Linked DNA regions of Homo sapiens: region 2 is linked to region 1. The links are contacts of gene promoters, found by promoter capture Hi-C in blood cells and fetal thymus (Javierre and others, 2016). All regions are on one chromosome and are shown on one strand. The core of a region is centred on a gene start or on the middle of the fragment in contact, and the rest is flanking DNA. Distances in the headings are between cores, read along the strand shown.

Region 1 (4,047 bases), core at 98-2,597:
ATCTTTCTCCCCTGGGTCTCCAGCACCCAGCACATGACCCAGCACAGAGCAGATGCTTCAAAAACGTTGAATGAAAAGCGACCAAATAAATAAATAAATAAATAAATAAATAAATAAATAAATAAATGAATGATCTATCCTTCTGGGTCCACCACAAACCAAATCCTCCAGGTAATCCTCCATCTTGCCCTACCCTGGATAGATGTCAGCTGGCTCTGCAATGGAAATTCTGGAAGACTTTTACGAAAAATACATAGAAGAGTAGCTTAGGAGAGGCAGCTCAGGTTGGAAGGGATGTGTGTGAGGTAGGGTGTGTGTGTGTATGTGTGTGTGTGTGTGTGTAGCACTATGAAGCTCCCCATTAGAATAAAAGCACAGGATTTTACTTAAATCTTATTTGGGGGATTGGGTGGGTGACGACCGACTCCAGGGCACACCTGGGTGTATCTTCCCATTTTGCCTAGGGATGGGAGAGCATAGAAGAGATTTTTCTCCAAGCCACTTCAAATATGTATATTTTTAATTTCTATTTTGAGATTGTAGATCCAAATGCAGTTCTAAGAAATAATACATAGACATGCCATGTACCCTTCACCCAGTTTCCCCCGATGTTGACACGATGGCAACCAGGACATTGACATTGATAAAATCCACCCACCTTACTCAGATTTCACCAGTTTTATATGCGCTCATTTGTACGTGTGTGCGCGAGCGTGGGGTGTACACTTTATATAATATTTCTGAAAGTGGCTTTTCCCTTGCAATGGAGACTGGGAAGGGGTCCAGCCTGATCCATCCCTGCCACGGAGTTGACTCCGGCAGACAGCAGTCTATGCTTGTATTCGTCTCTCGCACACAGTAGGTGGCCAACGACCGTCCACATAAACCCTGGAATTTGTCATGTCAGGGCGCGTGCAGGAGGGGAGCGCCACATTGTAAGGAAGAAAACCGAGACTGAAGTGCCCAGTATTTTGGAAGCAAAAATCAAACAAACAAAAAACTTGACGATTTCCCCCCGAATTGTGAATTAGCTAGCCGGCTAATTACTCCAAAGCGATCCTGGTGTCGGCACTCGCTGCGACCGCCGAAGAGCGCTGTTTCTGAGCCCCGCTCCCGGCTCTGCCGGCGGGGTAGGGGACGCGGGGGCTCCTCCCACCCCTACCGCCGCGTTCACCCCTTTCTTCCCTGGGGCTGGACTGTTTCACCCCGTCTCCAGGCAACGGCCAGGCGCACCGGGCGGGACGTCATTTCCTGAGGAGCCCGTGGGGAGGGGGCGGGCAGGAGGAGGGACGAGGGGGCGGGGCCCGGGCCGGGCTGGCAACGAGACGGCGTCGGAACTCGCTGGAAGACTCGGCCCGGGTGGCTCAACAGTTCGCAAAGTCCGGGCTTGCGGCCGGGCGGCGCAGAGGCGCGGAGGCTCCCCGGGCGGCTGCATCCCGGGGCTGCCCCGGACATGCCCCGCACCCCTTGTCGGACGCCCGCGCCGCTTCACCGGCTGCCACTCCCCGGAGTGCTCTGGGACTAGAGCGCCCTCCGCCCCAACTTCTGACTTTGGGGTCCCCCAGCCCTAGAGGAACGGGCGCCCGGCTGGGGGAGCCCCGGGCATGGTGTGACGGGGCAGTCAGGTCAGCTTTGCGGCGCCCCCAAACTCCAGCCACCCGTCGTCTCCGTGCCCTCCAGAATGTAGCTGCTGACCCCGCGCCCCCCGGACTCCAGCAGCAGTCTCCGCCACCTCCGGGCTCCAGCAGCCAACTCTTGTGTCTCTCAGGAACCCGCCGACGTCTCCGCGTCCCCCGGATTCCAGGTTCGCGACCCCCGCCGTCTTCGCGCCTCCGGGACTCTAGCAGCGGTCTCCGCGACCCCCTAGGATCCAGCCACTGTACCCGTGCTCCCCAAACCCAGGCTCCAGCCGTCGTCTCCGCGCTCCCGGGGATCCAGCTGTCGCGCCAGTACCCGCGAGGACAGCGGCACCGCCCACACCCCGCGCGCTCAGAGCCCGGCCGGGCCTCGGCGTGGAGATGAACGCGCCGCTGGACGGCCTGTCGGTGAGCTCGTCCTCCACCGGCTCGCTGGGCTCGGCGGCCGGGGCGGGCGGCGGCGGGGGCGCGGGGCTGCGGTTACTGTCTGCCAACGTGCGCCAGCTGCACCAAGCGCTGACCGCGCTGCTGAGCGAGGCGGAGCGGGAGCAGTTCACCCACTGCCTGAACGCTTACCACGCGCGCCGCAACGTCTTCGACCTGGTGCGCACCCTGCGCGTGCTGCTGGACAGTCCGGTCAAGCGGCGCCTGCTGCCCATGCTTCGTCTGGTCATCCCGCGCTCCGACCAGCTGCTCTTCGACCAATACACGGCCGAGGGCCTCTACCTGCCCGCCACCACCCCCTACAGGCAGCCCGCCTGGGGCGGCCCCGACAGCGCGGGGCCAGGGGAGGTGCGCCTGGTGAGTTTGCGGCGTGCCAAGGCCCACGAGGGCTTGGGCTTCAGCATCCGTGGGGGCTCGGAGCACGGCGTGGGCATCTACGTGTCTCTGGTGGAACCAGGCTCTCTAGCTGAGAAGGAAGGACTGCGGGTCGGGGACCAGATTCTGCGCGTCAACGACAAATCCCTGGCCCGGGTGACCCACGCGGAGGCCGTCAAGGTAAGGCTGTGGTTTGGAGAGAGTCTGGGGCAGAGTATGGACAGAGTGGCACAGCTTTTTCAGTAACTCCATGCTGTGTGTCCTTAGATGAATCACTTGGCCTTTCTGGGCTTTTTTTTTTTTTTTAATACTTTAAAACAGGAATGTATAGCTTACAGAGCAAATAGCTCTCAGGCACTGGGAACGTAGTTCTGCACAGACATGGCCCTTGCCTTTGTGAGGCTTAAAAGCTAGTGCAGGTGATAGTAACAAATACTTGAGCAAATGTGTGGTTACAATGTGTGAATAGGGCTGTGGATTCTTATGAGCATTAAAAGAGATAAAATCTCTGCTTGGCATAATTAGGTGGCCTTTGCTACTGCCATTCTGTGGTTTTTTGTTTTTTGTTTTTCCCTGAAACAGTTTTGTTAGCTCTTAAGTGGCCTGAGGAGGCCGTTTGTGTGATCCACAGTGCACTGGCTTGACGCTGCTGTTTTTGGACCAGGTTGTGTATCCTGAAGCAAGTCACTTGCCCTCTCAGGACCTCTTGTTCTCCACTTGGAAAATGGGGCCACTGGACCAAATAAGCGGTCCCTAACCTTTTTGGAAATGAGACTCCTGCCTGAATGTAAAAAATAAATTCCCTAGCCCCTGAGAGTGTTTGTCCTTTCTGCCATTTGTTAATTGAGAAATATAACCTCATGACAACAGGCTTCCAGGGATTTAATCATGCTTTTTAAAGGAGTGTGTGTGCTTACTGATCTACAGCCCAGGGCTACTGAAAACCAGTTGGAGTATGATGGATAGTGTTGGGTCCAGGGTGGATTCATGGATCCTTTGCAGGCATTTTTCCCCCTTCCCCCCTCCCCCGACCTCCTTTGCGTACAAGAAGTGAAGAGTTTGGGGGAAAAGGGACACATGCTCTGCTTCTGCAGAGAAATGCTTCTCAGGGGGTTGGACTGTTCTGTAAACCCCCACTCCCCGCCAGCGCAGGTGTTTTGAACTCCAGCTGAGGGCCTGCTGGCTGCTGGGAAACTCCTAGGCAGCAGAGGCCCACGACTACTTCCTCCTGAGTGCCGTTCAGTGGCCTGTGTCCAGGTGAGTCTTGAGCCGTCTCCCTGGCTGTGCACCTGATGTTGGCTTCCCTCATTTGCTTCCCAGCCCATCAACCCCTTTGGAGGAAGCCCTTGAGGCTTTCAGAAACTTCTTTGTAGCTTCTGGAAAAAGGCCGATCGGTTTATACTGCATCAGGGTGCAGTGGGCAAAGCTCGTTGTGAGTTTCCATGCAACAATTCCTCTTCCCCCTCTATCAATCTTTTCCCTTTGTTTAGCATTCCATATATTTATAAAGAAGTAGTCCATTAGCCTTGGCCTTAAATGGTCTGGAGTTCCCAGATGATAAATTTATGCACTAAAGATACTTGAGGCAAAT
Region 2 (3,907 bases), core at 242-2,741, 530 kb before region 1:
TTATTTATATTCGCTACCCAAGAATTTTCTTTCTTTTACCTTTTAATTTGAAATAACTTTAGATCTTCAAACAAGCGAAGGAGATTTCCTAAACTTTACCTTCCAAACTTGTTATTGAATTTTTCATTTTGGTTATCTCACTTTATATTTCCAAGATCTTTTGCTTGTTCTCCACACATTGATCTTTTTCTGGCATTTTGTTTGTGCTTCCTATATCATCATCTCTTTATCTCTAAGAATATGTTGCTGGTATTTTATTCTATATCCTGCACAGTGTTTGTTACAAGTTTCTTTGTTTTGCTGCTGTTGTTGAGTTTGGTTTGGTTTGGGTTTCTGTCTTTCATGTTGGAGACATCCACCCAATGTCTGTTGATCATGGTCTGTCTTTTTGTATTTGAACTAGGAATGAAAGAGCTAATAGGGAGTTAGCTCAGGCAGGGCTTGTCAACTTTGTGGCTCCCTGCAGAATGATTGGGCAAGTACCCACAGTTTTCTTGGGGGACCCCCAAATAACAGTGCCATAAAACCTGGCCTCTCACTGTGTACAAACTTTCATCTTATTATGTTTCCAGTGTAGCACCTCGGCCTCCTTGAAGGCTGAGCCTGGTGGATTTGAATCCGGACTTCCTCTCTGGCTCAACCTTTCCAGAGAGTAAACCTCAGCCTACCATCTGAATGGGAAAGGGCAGTCATTTAGACTGTTGGAGGGAATGAGGAGATCTTAGAGTCTGTTTCTTACAAAAAAGCTTCTAAACAAACCAAACCTTTGTTCAACCACACTCCACATTGGCCTTTAAAGACATCTCTGCTTTTGTACACATTCCTTTACTGAACTTGCTGGACTCTGTGACTTGCACCAAGCAGCCTCTGACTAGCTCTGCCCATGCTCCTTAGTTAACCTCAGCCTTCTTCATTCATTCCCCTCCATGGTCTCTCTACCACTCACTTTCTATCTACCAAGTTTCTGGCACACCTGTTGCTGTCTCCTCTCCCATTCCCCTCATCTTCATGGATTTATACCTTACATTCTCTTGCTCTCTTTTTAGTGGGTTTTAGAAGCAAGTAGAGATGAGTGGCTGTATCCAATCTGTCATATTTAACCAGAACTGGACACATTGCTAATAACTATCATGCCCCTTCCTGGAATTGATATAACAATGAACTATCTCACTGTGTGAGCTGAAGCAAATCCTTTATCTTCTCTGGGTGTCAGTGTTCCCATCTGTAAAATGAATGCCTTGGACTTATCCATCTTTAAGGTCTTCTCCTTGTCAGGCATTCTAGGATTCTGTGTTTACCTGAATCATGAGTCTCATTTTGATCTAGAGTACCCTAATTGCCTAGAAAATGGCTTTGCACAGAAGCCTAGAGAACTGACAGGTAATTGTATTCCTAAGTAATTCAATGAACCCAGCTTTATCCCTGACAGTTGATCTTTCCCCCAGGGACTAGAACTGGGGGGCTGCAAAAAGGCCTCTGGGTATTAAATGAGCACTCATCCCAGTTTACTTTTCTGCATGTCCATTCACCAGCTTTACATGTCTTAGAAAAAAAATCAACCTGGTATAGGAGAAAAGAGTCCTGGACAGGGTGTTGGGAAACCCGCATGCAAGATCATCCTCTGCCTCCAACAATTTATGGAATGAGAGCAAGTCTTTTAGCTTCTCTGAAACTCAATTCTCCCATTGAAGAAAACAGGATAAGGTACCTTCCCAGTTCCCAGGATGCAGGAGAACCTTCCAGGGGCTTCTGCACTGATGCATGACTGCCCAAACTAAGCTGGCTGTTTGCAGGTTGTAGAGAAGATCGTTGTGCTTGGTTTACTAGGAGTGTAGGTTGAATTCCAATCCCAGACACTAAGGTCATTTGCTGAAAAGAATTGGAAGCTAGCAAGAGGGTGTGGAAAGAGGATTTCCTGCAAACTGAAACCAATGACCTCCTCTGTACAGCAGCACAGAGACCAGCCACAGACTACAAGTGTAGTTAGAGTTGGTCAACATCTGTCTGTCATGGATATCTCTGTTCTAGAAGAGAGACATGTGAGGTCAGCTTAAGTTTTAATCCTACCATGCCTATGGGGCTATTATAATCATCTCCTAACTCAAGAGATCCCCAAACTGACTGCACATTCAAATCACTTGGGAAGTTTCTTAAATATAGCCAGGCCCAACTTCTGGCTCTGATGATTCCATCAGTCTGAGATGAGGCCCAGGCATCATATTGTTTTAAAGCTTCTGAGAGTGATAAAGAGCTATATTTAGGGACCACTGACCTAACTGACCTCAAAGTCCCTTACCCTGTGTGATTCATCTTGCTACCAGATTAAGCTTCTTAAAGCACAGCTTGGTTTATGTCATTGGCATGTCCAAACATCTTTCAAGGCTCCCCATTTCTTGTGATGATAAACTTCAAGTTCCAAAGCTTAGCATTTATACCTTACAGGGCTCCTCACTCCGTTTAATGATAAACTTTAAGTTTCAAAGCTTGTCATTTAAAGGCCCTTCATAATCTAGTAACATTTTCCACTGTTCTAACACCTGAAGCTAAGTATGGTTGAGGTCGCTTATTGCCTCCTTATATTATTTCATTTTATGTTTTAAATCTGCTTTATTCAAAGTTTACTGATTTAAATATTAATCTCATCCAAAAAAAAACCCCCTTCACAGAAACATAGAATAATATTTGACCAAATATCTGGGCCCCATGGCTCAGCCAATTTAACACATAAAATTAACCATTACAATCCCATTCTCCCAATATAGTTTGGCAGGGCCTTGGGCAGGTGGTAGCCTTAGCCCTGGAGTCTACAGCAGTGCTCTCATCCTTACCAGATGCGGTCTCTCCCTCCTTATATTATTTTAACTTGCTCTGCACCTTCTGGCCCAAGGACCTTTGCTTGTGCTGTACTCTCCCCATCTCTGATATCTCAGCAGTGCACATGGAGCCTGGTAGAGAGTGGGTACTCAATGAATTCTTGTCCAGTAAGTAAGTGAATGGATGGGTAAATGAACTTATAAATAGAATGACTTCTTATCTATACCCTGAGAATTTCTGTGACCAAAAGCCATTATACTTTTTCTTCTGCTCTTAGGAAGTCATTGTGGGTCCAGATACCACCTCCTACAGCCTGGCAGACCTGAGCCCATCCACCCACTACACAGCCAAGATCCAGGCACTCAATGGGCCCCTGAGGAGCAATATGATCCAGACCATCTTCACCACAAGTAAGGAGGCCCAGGGTGCCATCCAGCCTTGAGATCTAACTTTGACTGAATCAACCCTTGACTTCCCCTTTGACTTCTACTTTAAAATTTTCAAACAAACCTCTGAAAAGAATCGATTCACTGCTACTACTTGGAAGCCTGAGGAAAGCAAATGTGGGAGATTATGAGCATCCCGGTGAAAGGAAAGGAGGAAGCCCATCTGGATTCAGTCCCCATTTCTATCACCTGCTAGGTGTGCCTTAAGAATGCTACTTCCATCCTATAATCTTTAGCTTCTTCGTCTATACAGGGAGATTAATAATAAATCCTCTGTCACCAGGACCTTGCAAGTGTTCATGAGGTATTGCATTTGAACTCCTAGCCCAGTATGTGGCCCATATAATTGTGTGGTCCTTTTATTGTCAGAGTTCAACATGAGCTGAAAGTCTCTTTCTTTCTCCTTCATCATGCCAGTGTTTACAAAACCTGTCCACATTCAAAATCACAAATGATCTTCCCACCAAGCTGGTATGGTGAGCCCTATGCCCAAAGTTCTAGTGGGGAAGCAGACACTTTCAGAGACTAAATGACCTGTTCAAGACTATCTTGTGAGTTACAGTCAGAGTTGGGCTCAGATATTCCATGCCCAGGGAGCCTCCCCCTGCACCTGTCACAAAGTATCTTCTGCAGATAGCAAACCTGCA

Evidence for each region. Contacts are between HindIII fragments. The CHiCAGO score rates a contact against its expected background, and 5 or more counts as called.
Region 2: a contact is called between a fragment that was not itself captured here and the fragment with the promoter of WHRN in region 1, in 2 of 17 cell types (monocytes and activated CD4 T cells). The highest score is 5.9, in monocytes.

The regions. Positions count from the first base shown.
Region 1 is chr9:114,502,773-114,506,819 of GRCh38, reverse strand. It overlaps WHRN (whirlin), which reads left to right and starts at 1,347. Exons shown (of 12, transcript NM_015404.4): 1 at 1,347-2,636. The coding sequence starts at 2,019. RefSeq lists a silencer at 1,253-1,552 and enhancers at 1,077-1,967, 1,968-2,858. The HindIII fragment of the contact is 12,008 bases long and covers 1-4,047 here.
Region 2 is chr9:115,030,870-115,034,776 of GRCh38, reverse strand. TNC (tenascin C) reads left to right here. Exons shown (of 28, transcript NM_002160.4): 23 at 3,092-3,224. Among named protein-coding and RNA genes, the nearest start is that of TNC, 85 kb to the left of the region's middle. The HindIII fragment of the contact is 1,485 bases long and covers 749-2,233 here.